2 separate regions of the Homo sapiens genome follow, and region 2 is linked to region 1. Evidence: promoter capture Hi-C in 16 types of primary human blood cells and fetal thymus (Javierre and others, 2016). All regions are on one chromosome and are shown on one strand. The core of a region is centred on a gene start or on the middle of the fragment in contact, and the rest is flanking DNA. Distances in the headings are between cores, read along the strand shown. Region 1 holds the start of PNISR (PNN interacting serine and arginine rich protein). Region 2 has its middle 22 kb from the start of USP45.

Region 1 (7,943 bases), core at 1,592-4,091:
GCTGGAATGCAGTGGCACGATCTCGGCTCACTACAACTTCCACCTCCCGGGTTCAAGTGATTCTCATGCATCAGCCTCCTGAGTAGCTGGGCCACCACACCCAGCTAATTTTTGTATTTTTTTGTAGGCAGTTTCCCCATGGTGGCCAGGCTAGTCTCAGACTCCTGGCCTCAGGTGATCCACCCTCCTTGGCCTCCCAAAGTATTGGCATTACAGGCGTGAGCCACATTGGCCAAATTTTCTACTTTAAACACTGAAAACAGAGGAAGTTAATAAAAATTTTAACCTATAAAGTCCCCTGGTTGTTAGTCATTAACAGCAGATTGTCAGATAAGACTGGTAAAATGATGGCTGCTAAGCATTTGATGATCCAGGCGCAGGATGATCAAACTGCAGCAGATCATGCACGTGACAGCTGCTTACATAGAAATTTAACACCACAACACACATTCTTAGAAAATTCTGTGTTGAAATACATACACTTACCTGATGTGTCCATAAGATCATAATGTTACGGGGAACTCTTAGAACAGAGTGGTTAGAGAAAGGGAACTGGAATTGGAACTGTAAAATTCATTTTCTGGTCTGGTAAATAGCAATTGCTGAGGGTGTCTCATTAAACTGGCACAAGGAACAAAATGTGAGGTATTTAATAATCCTCTCCACTTCACAATGCATTTCCAAAATGACTGGCCTACATTAGGATCATTGTTGAACATATTAATGCAAACATATAGCAGATGTAAAAATTTCTGTGTGCAAAGCAGATGCTGGCCACTTGGAGGGCAGAGGTGAGGGGGAAATCCCTTACCCGAAAATTGCCTCACCTTTACTAGGGAAACAAGCAAAGAATTACAATATGATTATAGAGAGTAGGAACATGACAGTTTCACTAGGCCAATCAGGTTTCTCTAAGAAGATAGAACATTCCTCTGATGAGAATGTTTCTCAGAGAATTAAACTTGAAAATCAGACCTGATGCAAAAAACTTGGAAAATGCACAAAATCACAGAGCAAAATTAGAGATTACTGATAACATGTGGTATATGTCCTTCTAGTTTTTGCTCCATACAGTGGTTTTTATTTATTTTATTCTTTTGAGACAGAGACTCACTCTGTTGCCCAGGCTGGAGTGCAGTGGAGGGATCTCGGCTCACTGCGACCTCTGACCCTGAGTTCAAGCAATTCTCCTGCCTCAGCCCCCCTAGTAGCTAGGATTACAGGCGCCTGCCACCACGCCCAGGTAATTTTTGTATTTTTAGTAGAGACGGGGTTTCACCATGTTGGCCAGGCTGGTCTTGAACTCCTGACCTCAAGTGATCTGCCCGCCTCGGCCTCCCAAAGTGCTGGGATTACAGGCGGGAGCCACCAAGCCCGGCCCATACAGTGATTTTTTAAAATCAGACTGTCCAGTAGTCTTATTTGTGCTAAGTGGAAATTAGGGAAAGGGTCAGAGAAATAGGGATTTCCTTTTGCCTTCAGTAGTATCCTCATGAACCTGCGTCATGGTGTTGTTAGGTGTAATTAATGAAGGTTTCTCACAAGATAAAATGTTATTTTGAGGACCACGTCCGTGGATTGGAGGAAAGGCAGATGGTTAGCTAGTGACGACTTTATTATAATGCTAATTCAGGAGTATCTGGGTCTCTAGTGCTGAGGAAAACTGAATTTTCATGCAAAGGGCATCTATATTTTCACATCTGTATCTTTATCCATCTAGCTGTGCTCTTACTATTTTGTTTCTACGGTAATTTGCTATTTCTTTTGCACGACAATTGCCCAATGAAATAATTCAGATACTTCGTGCACTTTGTCACGCAGAAGTTTTCATGTTACTCTCTGGAAAGGCACTTCCCAAGATGTAGCTAATAAACACTGTATCTTTGGAACATTTTTGTTTTCCTTTTAACTTGTAGCTCCTAGCCTGGAAATTGATACTTTTGACACTTGAACGTTGTTCATATAAAAACACTGTGAAATCAACATACTGTCTTTGAGGAATGGCATTGCATGCGTCCTTTTGAGAAGCCATCTTGTAGTTGAAGGAAAGCAGCAGGACGGAAACCAGACTTCCCCCCCACGGTTCCCTAAAAGTCACGGATAAAGAATGAAAAACCGGGACTAGTTAAGCCAAGGAGAGAAGAGCAAGTGTTCCCGGAAGGGGGCGCGATGTGTTGAGGTTAACAAAGAGAAAGACAGCTGCGGGGTCAGCTAAGGTCTCCGCTTTCGCTACCGACCCAGACTGCTCACCTTCACAAACTCACGTTTTCCTCAAGCGGCACCCTCGGCAGCGCTCAAGTGAGAGTATTCCATCCTTGGAATACTCCGAGAAGGTTCGAGCCAGAAGTTGGATTGCCTGAAATGCCGCTTCCAGCGCACTAAGTAACTTGAACTGCGCTAAGCAACTGGCCAGAATTGGTTTGGTTTGGTTTGACCCTGGGGTTCCTCCGTAGTCTGTAAGTGGAGTTGCGAACTCAACCCCTTCTCCAAGGCGGGAGTGTTTCTAGGAGGGAACATACTTCCCCTTAAAGGAAGATCACGTTGCTAAAGTAAAAAATTTGAAGGCGCCCTATGTGTAGAACACTTACGTTCTTGGCTTTCTGGCCACTATAAAGATGGGTCGGGAATGGCGCCAGCTACGTTAAAAAGTAACGTGCAGGAATGGTTCAGTTGCCCGGTGTTGACCAGAGTAGAGATGGTTTTGCCCACAAAAAAAATGGCGCCGAAACATGTCAATCCGCACAATCACGTGTTCACAAACCTGGATGAGAGATGGTATGGCTTCAGATGACAAACGGATGTTATTATTCTTTACTTCCGGGTGAGACAAATCGGGCGCCATCTTGTCTTGTTCCCGAAGAAGTAGAAGCATCGAAAGCGTTGGAGAGGTGTTACCGGAACGGCGGCGACAAGGGTGTTCCCGAACTAGAGTGGGTAAGTGATGGAGAACAATTATACGTGGGCACTTGCCGGACCATTACAACGTTCTTGGTTTCTGTGGCGAAGGTAGCATAACTTAAAATAGGCTGCGTACGCTGCTTGGCGCGACCGCTGGAACCTCATTCCTTTAAAGCGCTGCGGTCCGCCAGACTTGGTAAATCAGAGCGCTGCTTTCGCTGAAAAGGAAATGTCCTTGTTAAAGAGAGTGCTCACGGTCCCATCTTCTCACAGAGTTTCCTCTCGGACGAGAAGGGACTAATTGTTGGGTTCCTGACCGGCCGTTAAACACTGCGCGTGCGCAGTGGGAACCCCCTTGTGGGAAGGGGGTTCATGGGGGCGGAGGAGGCGGGGGCTCGCGACCTGGAGCTTATACCCTTTGAGGCTCTGACTACGCAGGCGCAGTTCCTTAGTTTGTGTTTTTCGTGTGTTCTTACCCAATGATGGATATTATGTGTTAAGCTTCGCTAAAGGTAGTATCCAATATTTCAGTTTTTTACCCTGTGGTGGATAGTATCGTCATCTGAACAAATTGAGCATTAGACAAATTTGTTTGTGGGTTGTTAAATTAACATTCTAGCTTAAGATTTTAATTCAACATTAATCTTTTACATCTTTTTACTTCCCCCTGCCCCCAAGTAAAACAAAATAAACTTAGAATTCCTCATTTGAGTGCAGCAGGGCGAAAACAACAGCAACCAGACTACTAAAGATTTTACTTGTGGAATTTTTTTGTAAAGTGGCAAAGGGCTTATAGAGAAAACAGTTCTTTAAAGATGTTCTTGAGAGTTTTTTTTTTTAACTTACTAATAGACTTTATGTTTTAGAACAGTTTTTGTTTACGTTGAGCACATACGACGTCCCCACTACACACACAGTTTATCTTCTTATTAATAGATGTTAGTATGGTACATTTGTTGCAACTAATGAACCAATAATGATAAATTATTAACTAAGGTCCATAGTTTATTCCTACTTCCTCACATTTTACCTAAAGTCCTTTTTCTGTTCCAGGATGCCAGCTAGGATATCACATTACATTTAGTTGTTGTATATTCTTAGGCTGTATATTCTTGGCTGTGACAGTTTCTCAGGCTTAACTAGTTTTTGATGACTGTTAAGGGCTGACTTGTGCCCCTCTAAAATTCGTATCTTGAAGTCCTAACCTCAGTACCCCAGAACGTGACTGTATTTGGAGAGAGGGTCTTTAAAGAAGATGAGGTCACTAGGGTGGACCTTAGCCCAATATATTAATAACTGCTGTCCTTATAAGAAGAGAGTAGGATACAGAGGGATGATCATGTGAAGACATAGGGAGAAGACAACCATCCACAAGCCAAGGAGAGAGGCCTTAGAATGAAATCAACCCCATAGAGCTTACACTATACGCCTCCAGAACAGTGAGGAAATAAATTTCTGTTGCTTAAGCCACCCAGTCTTTGGTACTTTGTTATGGCAAGCATACCAAACTAATACAGTGACCTTGACATTTTTTGAGGAGTATGGTCAGGTATATTGTAGGGTGCCCTGCTATTGGAATTTGCCAGACGATTTTCTCATGATTAAAATGGCCTTACGGACTATATCAGGGGAAGATCACAGAGGTAAGATGCCCTTTTCAACACATGCTATCAAGGATACATACTATCAAGGTGACTTATCACATTATTACTGACCTTGATCATCCTTCTGGAGTAGCGTTTGTTAGATTTATCCACTGTAAAGTTACTTCCCCCACCCCTTTTTATACTGTTCTCTTTGGAAGGAAGTCACTTTGCAGAGCCCACGCTTACTGAATGGACAGTTGTGCTCTTCCTCAGTTAGGGTGGAATATTTACATAATTTATTTGGAATTCTCTGTGGGAGATTTGTGTCTTCCCTCACATTTATTTGTTAGTTTATTTTATCATATCCTTATGGGCTTGTGGATGTTTATTACATAACTTATATTATAATCCAGTACTTCTTTATTTTGTTGCTCAAATTGTACCAGCTTTGGCCATTGGCAGCTCTTCGAGTTGTCTACTGTTCTCCTTTGACATGTTCCTATCAATTTTTTTTTTTTTAGCACTTTATTGCTTCCTGGCAGTATACATGCCCCAGACTCATCTTTTATATTTCCTGTCGCAGTCCTAGAGTCAGCTATTTCTTTAAAGATCTCTGATTCCTTTTATTGAAGAATGGTATTAAAACCAAGTTCTCGTGCCTAGGTGTGCTTGTTGCTACTAGGGTGTCATTTTGGGCGCTCTCGCTACATTTATTTTTAAATTATTATTGGGGGGGTATTTATAACCGACTCTCCAATTCTCCAGTTTTTTTTTTTTTTTTTTTTTTTGAGACAGAGTGTCACTCTGTTTCCCAGACCGGAGTGCAGTGGTGGCACAATCTTGGCTCATTGCAACCCCTGCCTCCCGGGTTCAAGTGATTCTCCTGCCTCAGCCTGCTAAGTAGCTGGGACTACAGGTATATGCCACCATGCCCAGCTAATTTCTGTATTTTCAGTAGAGTGGAGGTTTCGCCATGTTGGCCAGGCTGGTCTCGAATTCCTGGCCTCAAGTGATGAACCCACCTTGGCCTGCCAAAGTGCTGGGTTTACAGGCATGAGCCGCCATGCTTGTCCTCCACTTTTAAAATAGTCTTTTGAGCTACAAGCTGCAAGTATTTCAGTATATACTAAAATGCATGTCACATAAAGTAGCAAAATTTCTGTTTTCCGTATTTCGAATGATTACAAGATTAATTTTTACCAGTGCCATTTCCACCTAATCTGAATTAAACAAATAAATTCTTTTTTGACTTTGAGGTCAGTCAACTCATGTAAGACTGAAATGTCAGGGGTGAAGAGGATTGTTGTATTTTCTGGCTTCTCAGCTTTGTGGTTGATTTGAGAAATATTTCATCCTATGCATCAAATGATAGATGTGTTTCTGTAGCTCTTTGATTTTGTAGTTGATGCTCAAGGACTTTAAAATACCACATTTTAATTCTCATCCATCTCTGTCACAGTCTCTGAGTGACTTTTGTAAATATTAATGATTGTCATTTTGGCCACACGGGGTGGCTCATGCCTGTAGTCCCAGCACTTTGGGAGGCTGAGGAGGATGGATCATTGAGGCCAGAAGTTTGAGGATAGCCTGGGCAACATGGTGAAACTCCATCCCTACTAAAAAATACAAACATTATCCTCGCGCGGTGGCATGCACCTGTAGTCCCAGCTACTCGGGAGGCTGAGGCATGAGAATTGCTTGAACCTGGGAGGTGGAGGTTGCCGTAAGCCGAGATCACACTGCTGCATTCCAGCCTGGGCGACAGAGTGAGAATTTCTCAATAATAAATAAATGATTGTCATTTAAACAAGTTGTTTTAGGACCTCAAAGCGATGAAGTTCTAATATAGATACATTTAAGAAAAGGATAAAATAGATGATGGCCATTTCTGGTTGTATTAGTTTTCTAGGGATATTGTAGCAAATTACCACAAACTGGCTGATTTCAAACAACAGAAATTTATTCTTCCACAGTTCTGAAGGCTAACAGTGTAAAATTGAGGTTTTGGTAGGGCATGCTCTCTAATGGCTTTGTAGGGGATTCTTGTCTCTTCCTAGCTTTTGGTAGTTCTTGTCAATCCTTGATGTTCCTTGGCTTATAGAGCCATCTACTCCCAATCTGTACCACTGTGGTCATGTTACATTCTCCCTGTAAGTGTCTTATGTCTCCTTTTTAATAAGGTCCCTCCTAATCAAATATGAACTCACTGTAATTTGAATACATCTGCAAAGACCCTATTTACAAATAAGGACATACTCACAAGTATCACTTGATACTCACAAGTATCAGGAGTTAGGACTTCAGTGTATCTGTTGGATGGGGACACAATTCATTCCATAACACTGGTGATAGCTATCACTTGATTTTTTTGCGGCAGTGTGTGGTGGCTTTGATGATCTGATACAAACCTTGGTTATTCATCTTTCTGTTCTTCCCAGACCCCATTTGTTTTCCAAGGAAATAGCAGTTCACTTTACCACATGAAGGGAAATACTGTTAGGAAAGTCTTGCAGCCTTGCCCGTCATTAATCAAATTTCTCCAAACTTGAAAACCCAAGCCTAACAAGCTTTAAAATTAAGTCTAAAGGAAGAGTGAATAAATTGGAATCAATTTTTGATATTATAAAATCACAGTAGCAATATTGGAATGTCATTTTCATGGTTGAACATTAATGTATTTACTTGCTAACATTTCAGTGAATTATAAATATTTAACCACTTAACATGGACAAAACATTATGGAGAATTTAAATTATTATAAAATGTTTTCTCTCCCCTAAAGAAGATTTTTGTTTGAGCCAAGACAAAAACATGAAAATTTAATGCAGACCCTCTATAAAAAGTATTATTGTATGTCATCTTTAACTTATTAAATGAAAGCTTTCAAACAGTGGTAAAGAAGAGGGTAGCAAATGCCCATCCTTAAATTATCAACATTTTCCAAATCATTTTTAAACCAACTTGTAAATGTCATTTTTAATGGTACAACGTTATGTTATTTTGTTAAACCATAGTGAAATTTAAAATATGTATCCATTGATTACTGTGTGTTGTGCCTGTGTATTCCTTCTGTTTTCTAGATTTTGCATTTGTTGGATTTGTTAGTAGTGAAGATACTATGGTGAAGATGAAGGAAGAAAGAGTAGTGTTCCTAAATCCTTGCCATAAAATCACTAGTAATCTTACTGTTTAATTAAACAATAGTTAATGAAACTCCTTATCAAGCATTGTGCTATGTGCTGAAACATATATAAAAGTTTAAGTATTTCCTAGTTTTAAAACAAGTCTTTACTACAATCTGTCTCTTTTCTACAAAATTTTAATGTAAGTGCAAATTTTGTTTTCATGACCAGAGTTACCTGTTTTGGATAAGATTATCAAAATTTACTCTAAATCATATAAGAAAATGAGACAGAGAACATTTGCCCAATGCATGAAAAATGATGCCACTTGAGGCCT
Region 2 (7,943 bases), core at 5,444-7,943, 110 kb before region 1:
CAGGGCTTCGCCATGTTAGCCAGGCTGGTCAGGAACTCCTGACCTAAGTGATCTGTCCACTTCAGGCTCCCAAAGTGCTGAGATTACGGGCGTGCGCCACTGCACCCAGCCATGTCTTTTTAAATTCATGAATTCCTTCCCAGTCACATTTTTAAAATTCCTGTTTTTGGTTTGCTTGTCTACTAAGAGTCTCTCACCATCTGGATTTTGCTGATTGCATCCTTGACATGCCATTTAATGTGTTATTTTCTCCTCTATATTTTCTGTAAATTGGTAATTGAATCTACAGGCTTGATCAGATTCAGGCTTGCTTGTTTGCTTGCTTCCTTTTTTTCTGTCTTTTTTTTTTTTTTAGTAGACCACTGTACAAATTAAGTAGTGGTCTTTAATCAGGAGACATAAAGTGGCTGGGTTTCTCTATGATTTAATAGCAGCCATTGATGATATGTATTGTTTTTAAAAATCCAATATTACCATAGTTGTCCAGTATGATAGCTACTAGCCACATGTGGTTATTGAACACTTAAAACGTGGCTAGTGTGAATTGAGATGTGCTGTAAATGTAAAAATATATGTTGGGTTTCAAATAGTACAAAACAAAATAATATAAAATCTCTAATTTGTTTATAATGATTACATATTTTAAATATTTTGGATACATAGGATTAAATAAAACATTAAAATTAATTTCACTTTCTTTTTAAATTTTTTAAGTGTAAGATTTAAAATCATGTAATGGTTTGCATTAAAATTATATTGGGCCAGGTGCAGTGGCTCACGCCTGCAATCCCAGCACTTTGGGAGGCCGAGGCAGGTGGATCACCTCAGGTCAGGAGTTCAAGATCAGCCTGGCCAACATGGTGAACCCCCATCTCTACTAAAAAATAAAAAAAATTAGCCAGGCTTGGTGGCAGGTGCCTGTAATCCCAGCTACTCAGGAGGCTGAGGCAGGAGAATTGCTTGAACCTGGGAGGCAGAGGCTGTGGTGAGCTGAGATCATGCCACTGCACTCTAGCCTGGGCAGCCTGGATAATGGAATGAGACTCTGTCTCAAAAAAAAAAAAAAAAAATTCTATTGGACAGTGTTGCTGTAAGACATTATAGAGAAAATGTTAGACCCCTGTCCTGTTCTCCCTACCTCTCATTCCCATTCTCCAGAGGCAGCCACTTTCAACTTTTAGTCACTTCTCTGCTGTTTACTTCATTTCCAAGTGACAAGGTTTTAATTATAACATTTATTTGAACACTTATTAAAAATGTGCCAATTATGTTCTAAGCTCTCTGCATTTATGAAGTAAATTCTTAGAATGATCATTTTAAAAATGATGAAACTCTGGAGCAGAAATATTAAGTAATTTACCCAGTCACAGATTAACTAAGTGACAGAGCTTGGATTAGATTCTAATTCTTAGTATCTGGGCATTTGATCAGACGTGGTGGCTCACGCCTATAATCCCAGCACTTTGGGAGGCTGAGGCAAGAGGATTGAGGCCAGGCATTCGAGACCAGCCTGGGCAACAAAGCGAGACTCTGTATCTGTTTATTAAAAAATAAATAAAGCATTTTTTAAAACCTGGGCATCTAATCTCCAAATATATTAGCATATTGCCTCCTCTGCTTACAATCCCCTCATTTTTTCTTTTTAATTATAAATATTATCTAACTCTCTGCTATGGAAGATGAGGATTTTGCTTTTCATACTTCTCCCCCTATTCTCCTTCCCCAACCTGATCTTACACTGGGACTTCTACTCCTATCATCACTTAATTGTATAATTTTTTTAAATTCATATCGAATATATAAATGTACATAGATAATATTGTCTTCTATAGCATACCATGATTACATTTTCTTTCTTTTATAATATTTTTGTATCTCTGGAAGTAGTAATTGCCTTGGTTGTAATTTGTTCAACTTCATTTGTATCTTCTATTAATTGATCATCAGAATCGTTTGTCATTTTTTATTCTCCAAATCACAGGGAGACTTCTTCGAGTTCTACGGCCCTCAGTCAGGACTGACTACTGTCCAAATAACACAGTTGTCATAACAGAATTGATCATATTGGGACTTCCCTTTGTTTTCTCTTGCATTTAAGAGATATGGGGAATCCAAGTCTTTTTCTTTCACGATAGATAAGGTCTCCCTCTCTCACCCAGGTTGTAGTGCAGTGGCACGATCACAGCACACTGTAACCTTGAACTCCTGAGTTCAAGCAATCCTCCACTTCAGTGTCCTGAATAGCTAGGACTATGGGTGCACAGCTAATTTTTAAATTTTTTGTGGAAATAGAGGTCTCACTGTGTTTTCCAGGCTGGTCTCAAACTCCTGGCCTCAAGTGATCCTCCTACCTCGACCTCCCAAAGCCCTGGGATTACAGGCATAAGCCACTGTACTTAGCTGGTAATCCAAGTCTTTTAAGTAGTACCTTGTTCTGGAGAGTGCAATGGCTTCTCAAAATTCTAAGGATATTAACTTAGGTTTTTTGGTTGTTTTAAAATTTTCTTTGTTCCCTGCATTAACACTACAGGTTGAGCATCCATAATCTGAAAATCTAAAATCCAAAATGCTCCAAAATCCGAAACTTGAGTGCCAACATGATGCCACAAGTAGAAAATTCCCTATCTGATTTTATGAGATGGGTCAAAACTTTGTTTCATGCACACAATTATTTCAAAATACTGTATAAAATTAACTCCAGGCTATTTGTATTAAGTGTACATGAAATATAAATGAATTTTGTTTAGACTTGGGTCCCATCCCCAAGCTATCTCATTATATATAGGCAGATATTTCAAAATTTGAGACACTTCTGGTCCCAGCTGTTTCAGATAAGGGCTATTAAACCTGTATTTCCTTTAAGTTCCTTTTTGCTGTTTGGTTTGGTCATAGTCTTTCAAGTTAGAAGCTTGGCCGTAATTATCTCAGGATCCTTCATATTTGAGAGACACAGAGAAAGCTATCTGGAACATCTCTGTGTACATGGGTAGGACTTTTCAGTGGTGAGCTTCATTATAGGTAAGGGAACAGCAAAACATTTTCCTCAGCCTCACACCCCCAGCATTGTTTTTTAAAGGTTTTTCTTCAGGATGGGTCAGTTTTTCTGGAGAGAAATCTATCTCAGGTAGTAGGAGCTGAGCTGTCAGTTCTCAGAGACGAAATAAGGCAAGAAGCTAGCTCATTGTTCAGTATGCAGAGTTTCACTTTATCTCCTTGTTTTCAGTAAGGAGTCCACTGCCATTTCGGCCCCCAGATGTTTAGGAGTTTTCACCTGCCATCTTTACCCATTAATGTTAAATTAATGCAAACAGTAACACAAAATATCAGCTGCCTACAAACAGGTATCATATTGTACATATTCACACAGTAAGAATAGCAGCAAAGTATTAAATATTTGACATGTTATCTGATTTAATCTTCAAAACTTTACTGTGAAGTAGGAACTATTATTATCCTTATTTGGATTCACTTCAACCACATTCTGCCATTATAATACCTTATTGGCCGGGTGTGGTGGCTCACGCCTATAATCCCAGCACTTTGGGAGGCCGAGGCGGGCGGACTGCCTGAGCTCAGGAGTTCGAGAACAGCCTGGGCAACACAGTGAAACCCTATCTCTACTAAAATACAAAAAATTAGCCAGGTGTGGCCAGGCGCGGTGGCTCACACCTGTAATCCCAGCACTTTGGGAGGCCGAGGTGGGCAGATCACCTGAGGTCAGGAGTTTGAGACCAGCCTGGCCAACATGGAGAAACCCCATCTCTACTAAAAATACAAAATTAGCCAGGCGTGGTGGCAGGTGCCTGTAATCCCAGCTACTCAGGAGGCTGAGTCAGGAGAACTGCTTGAACCCGGGAGGCGGAGGTTGTGGTGAGCTGAGATCGCGCCATTGCACTCCAGCCTGGGCAACAAGAATGAAACTTCACCTCAAAAAAAAAAAAAAAATTAACCAGTTGTGGCAGTGTGCACCTGTATTCCCAGCTACTTGGGAGGCTGAGGCAGGAGAACTGTTTGAACCCGGGAGGCGGAGGTTGCAGTGAGCTGAGATGGAGCCACTGCACTCCAGCCTGGGCAAGAGAGCGAGACTGTCTCAAAAATAATAATAATAATAACTTATTAAAATTTCTCTTTTTCTTCTTATCCTTTGCTCCTGGAGAAACTTGTAGCATTAAAAAGTGGTAGTGATAAAATTATATTTTTCCATTAATAAATTGCTATTTTTGGGGACACCGAAAAATATTTTTTACTGGACGGTAGGATAAGCATTCAATTTTTTGTGTCTAATCATACAAAATTTCTCATAGATTAGCTGCTGATCCTACCTCTATCCAGTATTTCTATGGCATACACATTCTAGATAGCAAAGGGGCACATTATCTCAGAATCCAAGAAACCCCACTGAGATCATAAGCACAGAAGAAAGATTATGTGAATGAAAGAAACCTGAGATATTTTGATTAATTTAGAACTCTGAGGCTATCCACTGTTGCCAGTTTTTTCAGGACATCTTTCTCCTATTCCATTATGAAAGAGATGTAGAGTACATATAGCATTTAAAAATATAATCTGGCTTTTCTCATACATATCTGAAACTTTTGATCTACCCTTATATTATCAAAGTAAAAGTGATATTCTCCCATTACTGAAATAAACAGACATTTATTAAATGATGTAGTAAATCATATGCTGTATATTCACATTTTGAGGTCTCTGATACTACAGACCTTAATAATGGTTTTACTCATAAGAGTTTTGTTGGCATAAGGCCAGGTGCTGTGGCTCACGCCTGTAGTCCCAACACTTTGGGAGGCCAAGGCAGGGTGATTACTTGAACCCAGGAGTTTGAGACCAGCCTGGGAAACATGGTGAAACCCCACTTCTACAAAAAATAGAAAAATTAGCTGGCTGTGGTGGTATGTGCCTGTTGTCCTAGCTACTCAGGTGAGCTTCCCAGGAAGTCAAGCTGCAGTGAGCTGTGATCATGCCACTGCACTCCAGCCAGGAGACAGAGTGAGACCCTGTCTTAAAAAAAAAAAAAAAAAGACTGTTGTATAAGTCAGTGCAGTTTAAAAAGTATAATTTGTCCAGAAGCAGAGGTTGCAGTGAGCGGAGATAGCACCACTGCACTCCACCCTGGGAGAAAGAGCGAGACCCTATCTCAAAAAAAAAAAAAAAAAAAAAAAAGGCTGGGTGTGGTGGCTCACGCCTGTAATCCCAGCACTTTGGGAGGCTGAGGTGGGTAGATCACAAGGTCAGGAGATCGTGACTATCCTGGCTAACACGGTGAAACCCTGTCTCTACTAAAAATACAAAAAAAATTATCTAGGCATGGTGGCGGGTGCCTGTAATCCCAGCTACTCGGGAGGCTGAGGCAGGAGACTGGTGTCAACCCAGGAGGTGGAGCTTGCAGTGAGCCAAGATCATGCCACTGCACTTCAGCCTGGGCAGCAGAGTGAGACTCCGTCTCAAAAAAAAAAAAAAAAAAAAAAACCATATATATATATATATATATATATATATATATATATATATATATATATATATGTATATACACACATAAAATTTGTTAAATCTTTGTATCAGAATGACAACTAAAATTGTCTTTCTAAGTTCGATCTAATATAGAAGATACATTATTCTAATTTATTAACCCTTTGTTTATTTGGGTAAATAGAATACATTATCAAGTTTTTTTCTTAAAAAAAAAAAAAAAAGGGTACCAGGAATCCAAAGGTATATAGTCTTGTTCAAGTGTAGCCAAGTGGGGACAACAGTCCCTGTCCCATGCATACAAAAGGTAAAAATAAGTGCTTACCTACCAAACATATTAAATAAAATTGTCAACAATACTGTTAAAGCCTATTGTGTTCGTCTCCCTTCCCCCATTAGAAACCATTCAGAAGTAGATATTTTTATAATTTATTTATACTTACACTATATATGTCCATATGCCTAAATAATAATATATTTTGTATGTTTAAAAACTATACTGGCCAGGCATGGTGTCTCATGCCTGTAATTCCAGTGCTTTGGGAGGCAGAAGCAGTAGGATCAGTTGAGGCTAGGAGTTCGAGACTAACCTGGGCAACATAGCGAGACCCTGTCTCTACAGAAAGTGAAAAAACTATCCAGGTGTGGTGGTGCGTGCCTGTAGTCCCAGCTATTCTGGAGGCTGAGGTGGGAGGATTGCTTCAGCCCAGGAGGTATAGGTTGCAATGAGCTGTGATCTTGCCACTGCATTTCAGCCTGGGTAACAGTGAAAAAGCTTGTCTTAAAAAACAAACAAACAAACAAAAACTATACAGTATATGTTTCTGTAATTTGCTTTTTTCCCTCAACATTGTAAGAGTCATCCATGTTAATACATGTACCTCTGATTTTTCCATTTTCACTAATCCTGTCATCAGGTGTGTCTAATTGGCCATTAAACCTATCTACCTTCTATTGGGTGTTTAATTTCAGTTACTGTAATTTTGTTATCTAAGTTACTGAATATATTAATCACAGTTATTTTAAAGTCTGTGTCTGAAAACTCCAATCTGTAGATCTTCTGTGGATTTGTTTCTCTTGTCTTGTTTTTCCATTATTTCTCAATCATAAGGTCCTATTGACTGCCGTGCCTATTAATTTTTGATAGAATACCTGAAATTGTATGTGAAAATTGTAAGGTGAAATTGTATGTGAAAAATTGTAAGGAAAATTTGTGGCTGTAGCTCAGGGATCTACAAATTATGCCCCATGGACCAAATCTGACCTGCTACCTGTTTTTGTCTGGCTTTAAGAATGTTTGCTGTATGTTTAAATGATTGAAAAATAATCAAATGAAGAATAATATTTGGCAACACATGAAACATAAAATTCAAACCTAAGTGGCCATAAGTAGAGTTACTGGAATAGTCACATTATATATTGTCTGTGGCTGCTTTTGTGCTGCAACAGCAGAGTTGAGCAGTTGCAACAGAAACCTAATTGGCCACAAGACTAAAAGATTGATTATTGCCAACCTCTGTTCTAGCTAGATAATGGTATCTTTCTCTAGAGAGGATTTACTTCTGGTAGGCCCTTAAGATATTAGGAAGATCACCTTAATTCATTCAGGGATTTAATTGATTCAAAGCTTGTTTTGAGTTCTTGTGGGGGTTGTGAATTTCTGGTTCAACTCTACTTCTAGGGCATAGCCTTTTCAGGATTCCGACTAAAAGCCTGATGTATTTACCCACAATCCTGTTCCTTGATGGGCCCAGTACTTCAATGTTGGTTCATTGTCTACAACTTTCCTTCTCCCTGAGATTATGGCTCTTATATATGTGTATGTGTGTGTGTGTGTATATATATATATCTTGACCTCAGTCAAGATACAGAACATTTCCATCACCCTAGAAAGTTCTCTCCTTGCCTTCATATATGTGTGTGTGTATATATGTATATGTATATGTATACATATGTATATATGTGTATATATACACACACATATATGTGTATATATACACACACACACACTGACAGAAATATATATATTTCTGACATTGTCCTTATAGGTACTACAAGAATGACTGCATGAGTGAGTCTAAAAATACACTACATGGGTCTAAAGAGGCACAGACAAGAGAAAACAGGTTTATTTTGCCACCAGTGCATTAGCACACTAATTAAGTGTAGGACTTAACATTCCAAAGGAATATACCCATGCTAGTGGGAGTCATTTACATTTAGGCATTTCTGTTTTCATTATTTTTAAACTGAGGTATAATCACTTACCAAAAATGTACATTTAAGTGTTTAATGTGTTTTGACAAATGTATATACCTATGTACCAATACCTCAGTCAAGATACAGAACATTTCCATCACCCTAGAAAGTTCTCTCCTTGCCTTTTTTGTTTGTTTTTTTGTTTTTCAATTTTGTTGTTGTTGTTGTTCTGAGACAGGGTCTCACTCTGTCAC

The links. The method cuts DNA at HindIII sites, captures the fragments that hold promoters and counts their contacts. A CHiCAGO score of 5 or more calls a contact.
Region 2: a fragment that was not itself captured here is called in contact with the fragment with the promoter of PNISR in region 1 in 1 of 17 cell types (naive B cells); the score reaches 5.1 in naive B cells.

What each region holds. Positions count from the first base shown.
Region 1 is chr6:99,420,206-99,428,148 of GRCh38, reverse strand. It overlaps PNISR (PNN interacting serine and arginine rich protein), which reads left to right and starts at 2,841. Exons shown (of 12, transcript NM_032870.4): 1 at 2,841-2,934. PNISR-AS1 (PNISR antisense RNA 1) reads right to left here and starts at 3,278. Exons shown (of 3, transcript NR_125843.1): 1 at 3,035-3,278; 2 at 2,762-2,925. RefSeq lists enhancers at 2,040-2,089, 1,982-2,276, 2,160-2,379, 1,979-2,499, 2,500-3,019 and 3 more and a silencer at 3,183-3,363. The HindIII fragment of the contact is 21,108 bases long and covers 1-3,401 here.
Region 2 is chr6:99,533,510-99,541,452 of GRCh38, reverse strand. It overlaps the pseudogene TSTD3. Among named protein-coding and RNA genes, the nearest start is that of USP45, 22 kb to the right of the region's middle. The HindIII fragment of the contact is 852 bases long and covers 6,268-7,119 here.